Regions from separate parts of the Homo sapiens genome. Here regions 1, 3, 4 and 5 are each linked to region 2. The links are contacts of gene promoters, found by promoter capture Hi-C in blood cells and fetal thymus (Javierre and others, 2016). All regions are on one chromosome and are shown on one strand. Each heading gives the region's core, a stretch centred on a gene start or on the middle of the fragment in contact. The rest is flanking DNA. Distances are from core to core; before and after follow the strand shown.

Evidence for each region. The method cuts DNA at HindIII sites, captures the fragments that hold promoters and counts their contacts. A CHiCAGO score of 5 or more calls a contact.
Region 1: a contact is called between a fragment that was not itself captured here and the fragment with the promoter of FGF8 in region 2, in 3 of 17 cell types (endothelial precursors, erythroblasts and M2 macrophages). The highest score is 7.4, in endothelial precursors.
Region 3: a contact is called between a fragment that was not itself captured here and the fragment with the promoter of FGF8 in region 2, in 4 of 17 cell types (endothelial precursors, M0 macrophages, M1 macrophages and 1 more). The highest score is 8.4, in endothelial precursors.
Region 4: a contact is called between a fragment that was not itself captured here and the fragment with the promoter of FGF8 in region 2, in 1 of 17 cell types (endothelial precursors). The highest score is 6.2, in endothelial precursors.
Region 5: a contact is called between the fragment with the promoter of TLX1NB here and the fragment with the promoter of FGF8 in region 2, in 1 of 17 cell types (endothelial precursors). The highest score is 6.0, in endothelial precursors.

The regions. Positions count from the first base shown.
Region 1 is chr10:101,146,848-101,149,547 of GRCh38, forward strand. No RefSeq gene overlaps it. Among named protein-coding and RNA genes, the nearest start is that of TLX1, 17 kb to the left of the region's middle. The HindIII fragment of the contact is 2,312 bases long and covers 275-2,586 here.
Region 2 is chr10:101,774,778-101,777,477 of GRCh38, forward strand. It overlaps FGF8 (fibroblast growth factor 8), which reads right to left and starts at 1,337. Exons shown (of 6, transcript NM_033163.5): 1 at 1,092-1,337; 2 at 963-999; 3 at 353-439; 4 at 1-135. The coding sequence starts at 1,123. RefSeq lists enhancers at 1-242, 243-981, 1,418-2,236 and a promoter at 1,142-2,700. The HindIII fragment of the contact is 3,344 bases long and covers 1-2,124 here.
Region 3 is chr10:101,239,150-101,241,849 of GRCh38, forward strand. No RefSeq gene overlaps it. Among named protein-coding and RNA genes, the nearest start is that of LBX1-AS1, 11 kb to the left of the region's middle. The HindIII fragment of the contact is 4,597 bases long and covers 1-2,700 here.
Region 4 is chr10:101,186,111-101,188,810 of GRCh38, forward strand. The region is part of intron 3 of LINC01514 (long intergenic non-protein coding RNA 1514); the gene reads left to right. Among named protein-coding and RNA genes, the nearest start is that of LINC01514, 11 kb to the left of the region's middle. The HindIII fragment of the contact is 3,701 bases long and covers 1-2,700 here.
Region 5 is chr10:101,129,830-101,132,529 of GRCh38, forward strand. TLX1NB (TLX1 neighbor) reads right to left here and starts at 1,317. Exons shown (of 3, transcript NR_130723.1): 1 at 957-1,317. TLX1 (T cell leukemia homeobox 1) reads left to right here and starts at 1,471. Exons shown (of 3, transcript NM_005521.4): 1 at 1,471-2,280. The coding sequence starts at 1,713. The HindIII fragment of the contact is 16,958 bases long and covers 335-2,700 here.

The DNA of each region.
Region 1 (2,700 bases), core at 181-2,680, 630 kb before region 2:
GCGTGAAAAGGGCTGGGTCCTTTGGGTCAGGATTTGCCCTGCGACCGGAGGATGGGGCGCACGATTCCAAGGCGCGGACTTCGAAGGCGAGAACCTGGAAGGGGAAACACACACTCCCCCTGCCATCCCCCTGGAGTTCTCTTGCCCAGCTCGCAGCCTCCCTGAAGGATCGGGGCAAGGGCAAGGCCACGAGAGCTCAGGTGCTGTTAATTTCCGTTGAGGAGAAGCACCCTGGGGTCCCTGTCACTTGGAAATTCCCTGTGGCAGTGCTGTAAGCTTCATCACAGTCGGCCCTGCAACTCCCTCTGCACATCTTTGGAATCTCCAGGAGTTATGGGGCGGGGCGAGGAGCTAACCCAGCCCTGGCTCCTCCTCCCCAGGGAGCCGAAACTTCTATACTTCTCTGACTTTATGGTCCTTGGAGGCAGGGTAGGGGTTCAGGGGACTGATTCCTTTGGATTTCTGGGCGACTGGTCTGGCAAGTCAATAACCACCCCAGTTGTCCTGACAAACGGGTCTGCTTTGTGATCAGAGTCCATAAAATGGGCCTGTAGGAAACAGTGTCCCCTCCAACCAATACGGAGCCAGAAGCCCTCTCCTCTGTATAAGGTTTAGAGAGTGCTTCTCCACCCTGGACTGCAGGGAATACTCTCCTCCCTTGAGTCTTTGATTTTCTGCAGTCCCTCAGTGTGTGGAGTCTGAGTCCAGCTAACCCGAGAAGAAAAATGCACTGATTCCAGGGATATTCGGTAGTTTACAGGATCAATAGGAAGGCTGAGGAATTAAGGAACATCAGTTTCAGGAAACACAGGAATGCTTCGTTAAGGCACTGCTGCTAGCACCACATGCTGCTAGACTCCGGCATGAACATCACTGAGAGTAATTTCCCAACTTTTCCTCCATCTTCACTTCACTCCCTCAAGATTCAAAACTCATGGAGTATCATTTAACGACACTAAGAGTAGGACATGTGTCCAGGCACTAGTTGTCAGAGATGGGAGGGAAGAGCATAGTCCCTTAGACTTCCATATTAAAAGCTAAAACTGTTCCACCAATATTTACCCTGTTTGAGGACAGTCTCCCTATCAGGAAGTGTTCAGATGCTAGGTTAAAAAAGGGTGGGGGGACCCACTCGAGGGGACCCACCCCTTTGGCTGCCCAATATTCACATATGCCTTTCTTCCTAAATTTACAGGCTTTTCCTCCACAAAATGCTCCCACCTAACATGTTACTGTCACTCATGACAGAAAATATATTCAACTTTCCTGACAATCCAAAGCCTCATAGCTCTAAGTTCAATACCTTTGTTCTCTTCCTTCTCTAGTTCTGTTGGAATCTGGTCTCAATATTGTGCAACTTGTGGATTAGACTAAATTGTAAAGCTAATAATCATCACACATAATAATATAGTAGTGGCCAGGCATGGTGGCTCATGCTTGTAATCCCAGCACTTTGGGAGGCTGAGGCAGGCGGATCATTTGAGGACAGGAGTTCGAGACCAGCCTGGTGAACATGGTGAAATCCTGTCTCTACTTAAAATAAAAAAAAAAAATTAACCGAATGTGGTGGCAGTTGCCTGTAATCCCAGCTACTCGGGAGGCTGAGGCAGGAGAATTGCTTGAACCCAGGAGGCGGAGGTTGCAGTGAGCTGAGATCATGCCATTGCAATCCAGCCTGGGCAACAAGAGTGAAACTCCATCTCAAAAAAAAAATAGTAATAATAATAATAATAATAATACAATTACAAGGGAATAAGAATGGAAGAAAATGCATGAAGTTAAAATATAGACTGTCTAATATGACAACAGGTCAGGACGTAAAAACCATTGTCTTTTTTTTTGCATATTTCGTATTCATGACATTCCTCCTCCCTTTTCCATTCTGTTTCTTTTGCCTTCAGGCAGCACCTGGGCTGGTTTGGGTTCTTTATCCTGGAGAGAGCCAAGCCTTTGTTCCTGAGGGATCTGAGCCCTTGATGGTCCTGCCTAGAAAGGGCTGTCGTGGTCTTCCATTAACTTTTACCCCTGGACATAACAGCACTACAAGGGACCCCAAGGGAGCCCTGTGATTCCATGAATACTCCTTTTTGCCCCATTGTATAGGAAAACATTCTACTTGAACTTGCTACCGCTCTAGCCAATTCCATAGTCTCCTTTAACCTTGCTCATCCATTGACAGGAGCAACCAGAAGTGACCAGGTAAGAATTTATGCTCCCATTTCAGTGAAAACATTGTTTCTCTTGGTGGGAACTTTCTTCTCTTGGGGACTCTAACTCTAATATAGTAGAAACAAGAGTCACAGAAAGTGAGGGTGTCACTGGGGACTTGTAGAAGGTATTGCCCTCTCTTTTTGGGGTCATACAATCAGGCTATGGGGGAAATAGCAGCAAATATTAAGTACCAGCTCATAGCATATGTTTCATCCTGAAGTACTGCACCACACTACCGTAAAGGACAAACCAGGCTGTTCTAATAACACAGAATACAGTGGCTCAAACAAGATATAAATTATTTTTTCTCTTGCATCTAGGAAAGACAGATAGCTCTGCTCTGTGAAGGCATCGGGAGGCCCAGGCTAGTGAGGAAGCTTTGCCATTCTCCGCAGCCACCTTCCAAACTTGTGTCAATCCTTGACAGAGGAAGGAAAGGGGGCAGCAACTCCAAGGCAAGCTCTTTAAGAAGATGACTGCAAAGTTGTG
Region 2 (2,700 bases), core at 87-2,586:
CAGGACCTGCACGTGCTTCCCGCTGGTGCGGCTGTAGAGTTGGTAGGTCCGGATGAGGCGGCGGCTGAGCTGATCCGTCACCAGGCTCTGCTCCCTCACATGCTGTGTAAAATTAGGTGAGGACTGAACAGTTACCTTTAGGAAATTGAAAAATACACAATACACCATTATAATGCTACTCCGCCCAGGGGCCCGAGTGGCCCCATCACCCTGCGTCCCCCTCACTGCCCCAAGCCGCCAGCAGGTGCTGGGGGTTCCCCCAACATGCCAGCCCAGGCCACCATCCCCCACCCACGCAAGTCGGGCAGACCCAGCCCAGGATGAACGAGCCCCAGGGAGAAGCTGGACCCACCTGTTGGGAGACACCCTGGGGCTCCCGGCCAGCCCGGAACAGGGAAGCGAGCTCCCTGCCCAGCGCAGGGCCCCTGCCCGGGCCTTCCTAGAGGAGCAGGGCGCTTTTAAGTAGGGAGGCAGCCCTCCCCGACCCCTGACATTTATAAAGACAAATTTACGGAGCAAATGTTGAGAGTGCAGGGAACCTGGGCACCCGATCATTGGGCCAAATCGGCCACAAGCCTCCCCCGAGGGGCGCTGAGAGGGTCTCTGCTGCAGTCACCCGGCTTCCCCTGGCATCGAACATCCATCCCCTGGCCGCGGCTGCCCCCTTCCTCGGCGGCTGGGTGTTCCCTATGCCCCCAGCCGGCGAGGATGCATGGGGGACAGTGCTGGGCTCCGAGACCTTCGTTTCTATCCTGGCCACTCACTCGCTGTGTGACCTCAGGAGGGGTGCTACCTCTCTGTGCCTCAGCTCCCTCCTCGGGGTGGCTCGGGGCTGGGTTTCTAAGGTGCCCTCAGCCCTCCCGCGCCGGCCGCAGAGTCAGTCCCGGTGCCCCCGACCGGCGCTGCCCACCCGGGTCTCACACCGGCGCGCCCGGCCCCCGCCTCCGCGCACCCCTCCTCACCTGGGCTTGGAGGCAGAGGACCAGCAAGTGCAACAGCCTGTGGGAGACAAAAGCGGGCGGGAGAGAGAGGCGCGGGTGAGGCGAGGGGCGCGGGGGGCGGGTGGCGGGGCAGGGCGGCGCGGTACTCACAGGCAGCTCAGCGCGGAGCGGGGGCTGCCCATGGCGCGCGGCCCCGGGGCACCGAGAGCCCGGCGGGTCACGCCGTCCCGCGGGCCGCCGCGGGAGGACGCGCTGAGCAGGGCGCGAGCGGAGAGGGTGCGGGTGCGGGAGGCCGGCGGCGATCACGACGCGGCTCCGCGGGTCCCGTGGAACGTCGTGCTCGCCGCGCCGCACCGAATCGCTGTGCGCCGCTGCCGGAGCCGGTGGCCGCTGGCTGCTCGGGAGCCGGAGCGGGCGGGAGGGTCACGGGCTGGCGGGGTGGGTGGGGAGGTGGGAGGGCGGGGAGGGGTGGGGGCGGGGGGCGCCGCACCGGGCGCGAGGGGGGAGCGCGGGGCGGGCGGCGGGAGCCCGCAGCCCCCGGCTGGGAACTGGGGCCTGGATGCAGCCCGGGGCGGGGGCGGGGCGGCCGGGGAGGGGCGGCCGACGGGTTCGGGATTGAGGGTCTGGGCTAGGGGAGGGGTCTGGGGACCCGCGGGAGGGGCGGGGGCGGCCGGTCTGGGCGCCTCCCCCTATCCCCGGCCTGTCCCCTCGCGCGCTCCCCGGTCCCGGACGCGCGGGGATGGGGGCGCCTAGGGCTGCAAACTCTGCGGGCCGGGAGACCCCGAGCCTGGGCTTCCCCGACCGCCTGGAGCGCCCGAGTCTGGCGGGTCTGGGTCTCCGCCTCCGGGCCCAGCCGCTTCCGCCGCCGGCTACGCAGTGGTCTCCGAGCCACCTACTGTGTGTCCCGCCGGGCCCCTGGGAGCGGCCGCTAACCATGCAGCGAATGGCTGCGCACCCGGCCCTCGCGCAGTGCGTGCCGGTGCCACCCGGACCCCGCTCCCCTGTTTCGGCCGCGTGCCCCGTCCTGTCGGTCTCTCCAGTCTCCTTCACTCTCCCGAGGAGGCCCTGGGAGCCAGAAATGCCTCCCCCTCCCCCCATCCCATTATCACTATCACCCCTTCCCCTGTGCCCCTCACCACACACACACACACACACACACACACACACACACACACTAGCCTGAAGCTTGAGGAGCACCCCGAGCCACCTGTGTGGAAGAGAGAGTCCGGAGGTCCCTGGCAGGACCCACTGTCCCCGTACCTCAGCAGGCAGCAGGGGCAAAAAAACTCTCAGTAGCTTTTACTGGGGGAAGGGACTTCCATCCAGGCCACCCAGCCCTTTCCCCCTCAAAGCCCCACTCGTTTTTCATTTCACAGGTATTTACACACCTACTGTATTCTAGGCAGGGGCTGGTCAGCTGGGCTTGGGGCATAGGAGAAGGTAGGCACTTGTCTAAGCCTTTCCTAGCCCCCCACCTTGTGGCTTCCCCCCTGAGGTTTCTGGAAACCCTGAGCCCCCATGCTGCTTCTGTGGGAGCAGCCTGGGTGGACAGAGATGCTCTGGGACAGGTGCCTTGTGAGGAGCAGGTGATGCCCTACCAGACTGCTGTCTTCACTTACAACCTCCCCTTCCCCAGTGACCCTCCATTCCCCTGGGGGTAGGGCTGGAGGGTTTGGTGTGGTCCCAGGAAGCCATTAGGCCAAAATTAGCGGCAGCCCTAGTCCAGCAGCACAGCCAGGCCCTGCCTCCCTCCCTGCTC
Region 3 (2,700 bases), core at 107-2,606, 540 kb before region 2:
GGCTTGCATCTATGAAAATGGGAAGAATTCCATCACTGCCTCCCTCTCAGGGATCTTGAGAGGCCGAAGATGCCTTGAAGGTGGACAGGATTTTTTAAACAGGAAAGAAAAAATCGAGAATTTGTAAGGTCAGGATCAATGAGGGCCAGAGAGAAATAGAGAGGCTGCAGGAGTGGTTTCAGGCAACACAGAGCGAGCTGGACCCCAGGCGAGCAGACAGGGTGCAACTCCAGTTTGGGCAGAACCCAGGAGGTTTCGGCATGCCTGGGCCTCACCCCAGCCCACGAAGACAGCTGAACCTAGTCAGGATCTCGGCCTGTCACAGTTGGCCCTCTCATAATCCTCCCTCTAGGTAGGAAAATAGTCTTTTTAAGTCCAGTTTTACAGCTAGCAAACTGAGGCTCACAAAGATCACGTGGCTTGTTTGAGGTGAACAAACTAGGAAGTAGTGTAGCTGGTCACACTGTCTTCCAGACTCCATGCCCCTCCCCGCCCCCATTCTCCAGGGTTTTTCTGTAAACCTTACATTCTGCCTTCTACACACGCGCGCGCGCACACACACACACACACACACACACACACACATCCCTACCTGGAGATGCCCATGGGAAGGAGAAACACCCTCATTACTTTCTATATCCAGGCCCACTGCTCAGTGTCTTTCAGAGCCCACCACCTGGCTTCTTATAGGGCCCAGATCTGGGCACACCATTCTTACTTAGGCTGCTTGTACCTGTGCTGTAGGGGAGAGGGAGTTGGCTGTAACCAGGCAAAGCCAGGCAGAAGGAGTCATGCAGGACAGGCTTGAAGTGGGCAGGTGAGTCTCCCTGGCTAGAATCCATACTCTCCTAGGAATCTCAGTCTTCCTCTGCCCCCATCACCCCATCCCTGGGAGTGGGGGCTGCACAAGCTCAACACACATCCTGTAGGCTGCTGGTCAGAGCTCCTTTGGAGACTTAAGTTACTTGAGAAATCTGACAGTTCCCCCCTGGGGCTGGCTGGGGAGGAGGCACAGACTGTGTGGCAGGGCTAGGACTAGGGTGAGGCATGTGAGGTGCCATATTTAAGGAAGGCATCTGCTCTCAGCTCTGTGTGTGATCCCTTAGGTTTTGTGCCGTGGGCATCTCACTCGCCTCACCCTAGTCCCAGCTCTACTGTGTGGTCTGGGAGTTAGAATCAAGTCCAGTGAACTGCTGAGAGGGGACAGGGAGGCTGATTTCAGCTCATCCTTGAGAATGGCTTTCTGAAGGATCAAAGTGGAAACAATGGAATGAGCTTCCCCCAACACATGGAGTATGCAAGCAGGGCTTAGCGCTTGCTAAGAAGGAAAATAATCACGGTCTTATTGTCATCACCAATATTGTCCTCATTTGACCATCACTTTGTGTCAAGTAAAAGCTGTCATCACATTGTTTCATTTAATGTATATAAATATGTTTTAGCTGAATATGGGATATCAGAGTCTCTGACTTTGGGGTCCTTTCCAGCTCCAAGAGTCCATTGTTGCATAAGACAAAGAGCACTTCTGTTGATTTTTGTTGGTTTGATGCATTGTCATTATTTGTGGACTTATAGTCTTATACTAATGGATAAGACTTTGAGGGCAGGGACTGTGTCTAATCACATTTTTTTAAATGATTCCCTCTCCTGTTCCATGCTGACCACGGGCCTGGGGCACATAGAAGCTGTTCAATAAATGTGTATCAAACAAACACATGAGTAAACCAGTGTCTAAAAGCTGTCTGCCTACCTGGCCATCTGCTTTCCGGGCTGTGACCGACAGAGCCACTAGGGTGGCCACTGGGGGAACAAGAACCACCTCTGCAGTCATTATCCCCCTTATTCTACAGCTGAGCTGAGTTCAAGTGGGCATGTCTAGAGCCTCCCCTGACATCACATGCCTAGCCCTTTGCTAGTTTGTGGATAAGACAAGGGCCAGCCCAGGTTCTGCCTGTGCAGAAGGATCTCAAGACTCATACTGGACAAATCTCTTAAGAAACCATTCAGATGGTGAGGGAAGCCTCTGCAGATCAGAGCAGAGAAGGGCCTATAGCCAGAGAAGCCTGGCTGGCAAAGCTGAGACTAGAGCTAGTCCTTGAAGCATGAGAAGAATTGAGTGGTTGGAGGGAAGAAATAGACAATTCTTGCCGGGTGTGGTGGCTCACATCTGTAATCCCAGCACTTTGGGAGGCCAAGGTTTACTTAAGGCCAGGAGTTTGAGACTGGTCTGGCCAACATGGTGAAACCCCGTCTCTACTAAAGATACAAAAATTAGCTGGGTGTGGTGGCACATGCCTGTAATCCCAGCTACTTGGGAGGCCGAGGCAAGAGAATCACTTGAACCAGGGAGGCAGAGGTTGCAGTGAGCCGAGATCGCACCACTGCACTCCAGCCTAGGCAACAGAGTGAGACTCCATCTCAAAAAAAAAAAAAAAAAAAGAAGAAGAAGAAAAGAAATAGACCATCCTAGGTTGGATGGGGAGCAAGAGCAACGGGACAGAGGCAGGAATGGCCACAATCATTTTGGGGAGCAGGCAGGCTAGCCTGGCTAGAGTACCAGAAGAAGACAAGTAGGAAAAGGCATTTGTGGAATGCCTTGAATCTCCAGGCCCAGACCCAGAGAACAGAAAATGGGGTTCAGAAATCAGAATCCACATCCTAGAGCCTAGAAACCAAAGCCTAGAACTCAGAAAGCAGGGG
Region 4 (2,700 bases), core at 30-2,529, 590 kb before region 2:
AATGAAAGCGTCTACTCAGACCAAGAGGTATTTTAGTTTCCTGACTCGAAGCAGGTGAGTAAAGTCAATTTGCCAGTCCTGGGCGGGGGCAAATCCCCGAGCTTGATGTGGAGGGAAGGGAGGGGGCCTGAACAATCCCTGAGGAGTAGTAGAATAGCAGATGGAACACTGAGAAGTGATTTCCTTGAGGATAGATTTCCACGATGGAAAGAAAATGAGAGGTTCTAAGAGATAGGCTAGCGGTTTGTAACCTACATGGAAGAGGCTATGAAATGACGACAGAATAGAATGGGCCTGTGAGGCTGGAAGGAGATATTTTCCTTGGTCCAAGAACCATTTGCCTTGTGTGGGAAGATATTGATAGGTGGAAGTTTCAGTGGGAGAGTAGGTGGGAGTGACCAATGAGAAGGAGAAAAACTGGCCATGAGGGACAGAAGTTGGAACGCCAGCAGCTTCTTTAGCTACCTTGTCAGCATAAGCATTGCCCTGAGAGATGGGATCTGACGCCTTTTGATGACCCTTGGAGTGAATGACTCCAGCTTCCTTTGGAAGTAAAGCGGCCTAGAGAAGAGTTTTTATTAAAGAGGCATTAATGATGGAGAACCCTTGCATAGTGAGGAAACCTCTTTCAACACATATGACAGCATGGTGGTGCAAGATATGGGAGGCATATTTAGAGTCAATATAAATATTGATGCATAGTCCTTTTGCAAGAGTGAAGGCCCAAGTTAAGGAAATGAGTTCAGCTTGCTGAGAGGTAGTGGAGGTGGGCAGAGAAGTAGCCTCAATGAGATATGGAATATACTATAGCATAGCCTGCCTTTGCTGGTGAGTGGCAATCAGGCCTGGTGGAACTGCCATCAATAAACCAAATGTGATTAGGGTGAGGAACAGGAAAGAATGAAATATGCAGAAATGGAGTGAATGTCAGGGGGATCAGAGAGATACAGTCATGGGGGTAAGGTGTGGTATCTGGAATAATGTGGGGGCCAGCCTAAAACAGTAAGGTCAAATTGTTTGGACAGAAAGGCTACAGGGTGTGGTCCTGGCTCTTGTGTAAGAATTCCAACTGCACAGCCCTGCACTTCAGCTGTGTGTAATGAAAAAGGGTTGGGATGAGTTAGGGAGAGCTAGTATGGGAGCAGCTGCTAGGGCTGTTTTTAAGGAATGTAAAGAGGAGTGGGGAAAGAATTTAGGATCTATGGGGTCAACTAGGTTTCCTTTTGTGAGTTTATATAATGGTTTAATCAGATGGCAAAACAAGGTATCCAAAGGCGAAAGTATCCGACCACGACCAGGAAGGAAAGGAGTTGTTGTTTTGTAGAAGGGGTTGGGGTTTGAGAGACCAGCCAGACATGATTGGCAGGGAGAGCATGCGTGTTTTCATGAAGAATTATGCTGAGGTAGGTAATGGATGGGGAAGAAATTTGAGCTTTGGAGGGGGATAACTGATGTCCTTTGGAGAATAAATGTTGAAGGAGCAGGAGGGTATCTTGTTGAGAAGACTCAAAGGAGGGACTACAGAGTAGAAAGTCATCAATGTATTGAATAAGGTGGGAAGCAGAGAGGTGGAAAGAAAGTAAATCATGAGAAAGGGCTTGGCTGAAGTAATGAGGGCTGTCCCAGAAGCCTTGTGGCAGTAAAGCCCAGGTAAGTTGCTGGGACTGATGGGTTTCAGGGTCAGTCCAGGTAAAAGCAAAGAGGGGCTGGGACAAGGGGTGCACGGGAATCATGAAAAAAGTGTCTTTAAGATCAAGAATGGAATAGTGAGTTGTGGAGGGAGGTATTGAGGACAAAAGAGTGTACAGGTTGGGCACCACAGGGTGGATAGGCAAAACAATTTGGTTAATAAGGCACAGATCCTGAACCAACCTGTAAGACTTGTCCGGTTTTTGGACAGGTAAGATGGGGGAATTGTAAGGAGAGTTTGTAGGCTTTAGTAGCCCATGCTGTAGCAGGCGAGTGATAACAGGCTTCAATCCCCTTAAAGCCTGTTGTGGGATGGGATACTGGTGTTGAGCAGGGTAAGGGTGATTAGGTTTTAATGGGATAGTAATGGGCATGTGATCAGTTGCCAGGACGGGAGTAGAGGTGTCCCCATACCTGTGGGTTAAGGTGGCAGGATACAAGAGAAAGACATGAAGGAGGCTTTGGGTTGTGAAGAAGGGCAGCAATGAAATGTGGCTGTAGTCCAGGAATAGTCAGGGAAGCAGATAATTTGGTTAAGATGTCTCGGCCTAATAAGGGAACTGGGCAGGTGGGGATAACTAAAAAGGAGTGTTTAAAAGAATGTTGTCTGGCCGGCTGCTGTGGCTCACGCCTGTAATCCCAACACTTTGGGAGGCCGAGGCAGTTGGATCACGAGGTCAGGAGATGGAGACCATCCTGGCTAACACGGTGAAACCCCGTCTCTACTAAAAATACAAAAAAAAAAAAAAAAATAGGCATGGTGGTGGGCGCCTGTAGTCCCAGCTACTCGGGAGGCTGAGGCAGGAGAATGGCATGAGCCTAGGAGGCGGAGCTTGCAGTGAGCCAAGACCCCGCCACTGCACTCCAACCTGGGCAACAGAGCGAGACTCCGTCTCAAAAAAAAAAAAAAAAAAGAATGTTGTCCAAGTTGGCACTAGAGTTGGAGAGTTTTAAGAGGTTTAGCAGCCTGGCCGTCAATACCCACAGCAGTTATGGAGGCAAGGAAATAGG
Region 5 (2,700 bases), core at 67-2,566, 640 kb before region 2:
TGAGTACAGTACTCAATAAATATTATTGAATAAAGAGATACATTCTTTGTTATTCACCCAAGATGACCATATTTTGTTGTTTGGGGCTGTATTCTTCAGGAGAGAACAGAAATGAATAAGCCACTCTCTGCCTCCAAGAAGATCTCTTCAAGTGGAGGTGACAGACATGCCCAAAGCAAATAGATTGCAATAAGACTTGATGGGAGAGAATGTGAGTCTTCACATCCTAGCATCTTTCCAGATAGAGACAGGGCCTACCCAAAAGTCTAATCTGAAACTGAACTGAAATAGAACAGAAATAGATCCCAAGTGATGGAACCTGTGCCTTTCCCAAAGCTTGGCTTCTAAAAGGTAGCAAACATTTTCTACTGGAGAGGGGAAAGACAGGAAGAAGAAAAAGGGAGTTTCCTCCTTTTCTCTTGGGCTCTCAGCCAGACAGCCACTGGCAAAACGTTGGAAAGGCCTAAATTTGTCCTGGATGCACTTCCCTGATCCTAGTCCCACCAATCCCAGCCCCCACGGCCTTAAGCCCCTATGGCTCCCTCCCAAGATTCCAAACGTAAGAAAAGAACACACACCACAGTCCAAAGGCTTCTTGTCTGGAATAGCCAACCCTGGGGTAATTGTTAGGTGGAATGCAATCTGGTTGAATTCATTCAAACACTGTAGGAATTGCCTCTTTCGAACCCTGTAGGATTTTACTTCTTGACGCATCTGTTTATTTAAAACCAAAGGGGTATGTTGAGGCATGGGCACCCTGGCAGCAGACCCCAAACCAACCCTCTTGACTTGTGCCTGCCTTTCAGGATATGTTCCCTTCCTGAATTTGTCTAAGAAGGCTGAGTTGGGGGGTGGTTGCTGATTTTTATAACATATAGCCAGTTGTTCATAGGCCTGTGTTTTAAAGAAGGGCAAGCCTGAACTCACCGTCCTGCCTCAGGGCCTGGGCTCCATACCTGGGGAGTAGACAGTCTTCTACTTTCTAAAAAGCTGGACTTGAAATTTGGAGTAAATCTCCTGGTTGAGTGACAGGTGTTTCGCAGCTGAGCCCTTGAGGAGATTCTCCAGTTGGGCAGAGACATCCCTTCCTCAGACGCCTTGTGGGCTGGACTCCTTTGGCCCAGTTCAAAGTGAGGGGAGGGCTCCCAACAGGCCGGGAAGACAGTTGACTTCACCCTCCTTGGGTTTGTCTGTCTGTCCGTCTCTGGGAATGGTCGCTTCCTGTTTTCCCTTTTCCTTTTAAGCCTCGCCTTGTTCCCCTCTTCTCTCTCTTCATGAACTACTCCGAGTCTTGGTCTCCGTCCCTCTATCTCTGGCTCCTGCATCTGTCTCGGCTTCTGGCCTTCCTCTCCCCCTCCCCTCCCCTCCCTCGCGCTGTCATTCACCCCGCTCCTCTCCGCGCACAGCCAATGGAGAGACCCAGTCGAAACCGCGAAGCTCTCTTGCACCGGGCTTTTTCGCCTGGTGATTGATGTCCCAGAGTCAACAGCGAGCGAGCAGCCGGAGCGGGGAAGCAGAAGCCAGAGAGGGGAAGAATACGGCGCCCCCTCTCTCCCTCCCCTCCCCCTTCTACTTTAGCCTTTCTGCGCACTTCGCTTCCAAGTCTCCGCGCAGCCAGGAGCCGCTGTTGCCTCCCAGCCCCTGCTAGCTGCCCCCCGAGCCGAGCGCAGCGAGCGCCGCCGCCCGGGCCCCCCGGTGGGGCCAGGGCCAGCATGGAGCACCTGGGTCCGCACCACCTCCACCCGGGTCACGCAGAGCCCATTAGCTTCGGCATCGACCAGATCCTCAACAGCCCGGACCAGGGTGGCTGCATGGGACCCGCCTCGCGCCTCCAGGACGGAGAATACGGCCTTGGCTGCTTGGTCGGAGGCGCCTACACTTACGGCGGCGGGGGCTCCGCGGCCGCGACGGGGGCTGGAGGAGCGGGGGCCTATGGTACTGGAGGTCCCGGCGGCCCCGGAGGCCCGGCAGGCGGCGGCGGCGCCTGCAGCATGGGTCCTCTGACCGGCTCCTACAACGTGAACATGGCCTTGGCAGGCGGCCCCGGTCCTGGCGGCGGCGGCGGCAGCAGCGGCGGTGCCGGGGCACTCAGCGCTGCGGGGGTAATCCGGGTGCCGGCACACAGGCCGCTCGCCGGAGCCGTGGCCCACCCCCAGCCCCTGGCCACCGGCTTGCCCACCGTGCCCTCTGTGCCTGCCATGCCGGGCGTCAACAACCTCACTGGCCTCACCTTCCCCTGGATGGAGAGTAACCGCAGATACACAAAGGACAGGTTCACAGGTGAGTCCGGCCCGCGCGCTCCCCGCCTGGCCGCGGCCCGGGCTCCGTGCTACCCCTGCCCCGCCGGGTGGCTCCCCAAAGCCGGTTCTGCGCTCCAGGTCGCCCAGCTCTTCTTGGTGCTTCCCCCAAGTTGAGCCGCCCGCCCGATTCTATAACGCAGACTCGCCATGCTTGAAGAGTTCTCTCAGCCTGGACCCCTCTCTGTCTCCCGAAGGACCCCTGCTCGGAGGAGCTCTCCCTGGTCCCCTCTCCGGATCCACTAGCCGGGTCAGGCAGAGAGAAGGAGGCCATAGATTCAGGACCACCTTCTGCAGCTACTCTTGGCCTGGGAATCTTAGAGAAAGGGGTGCAACGTGAACAGTTTCTTCCGTCCTGGCTGCTGTTCTAGGACCCAGGAAGCGAGCCCCAGGATCAGACACA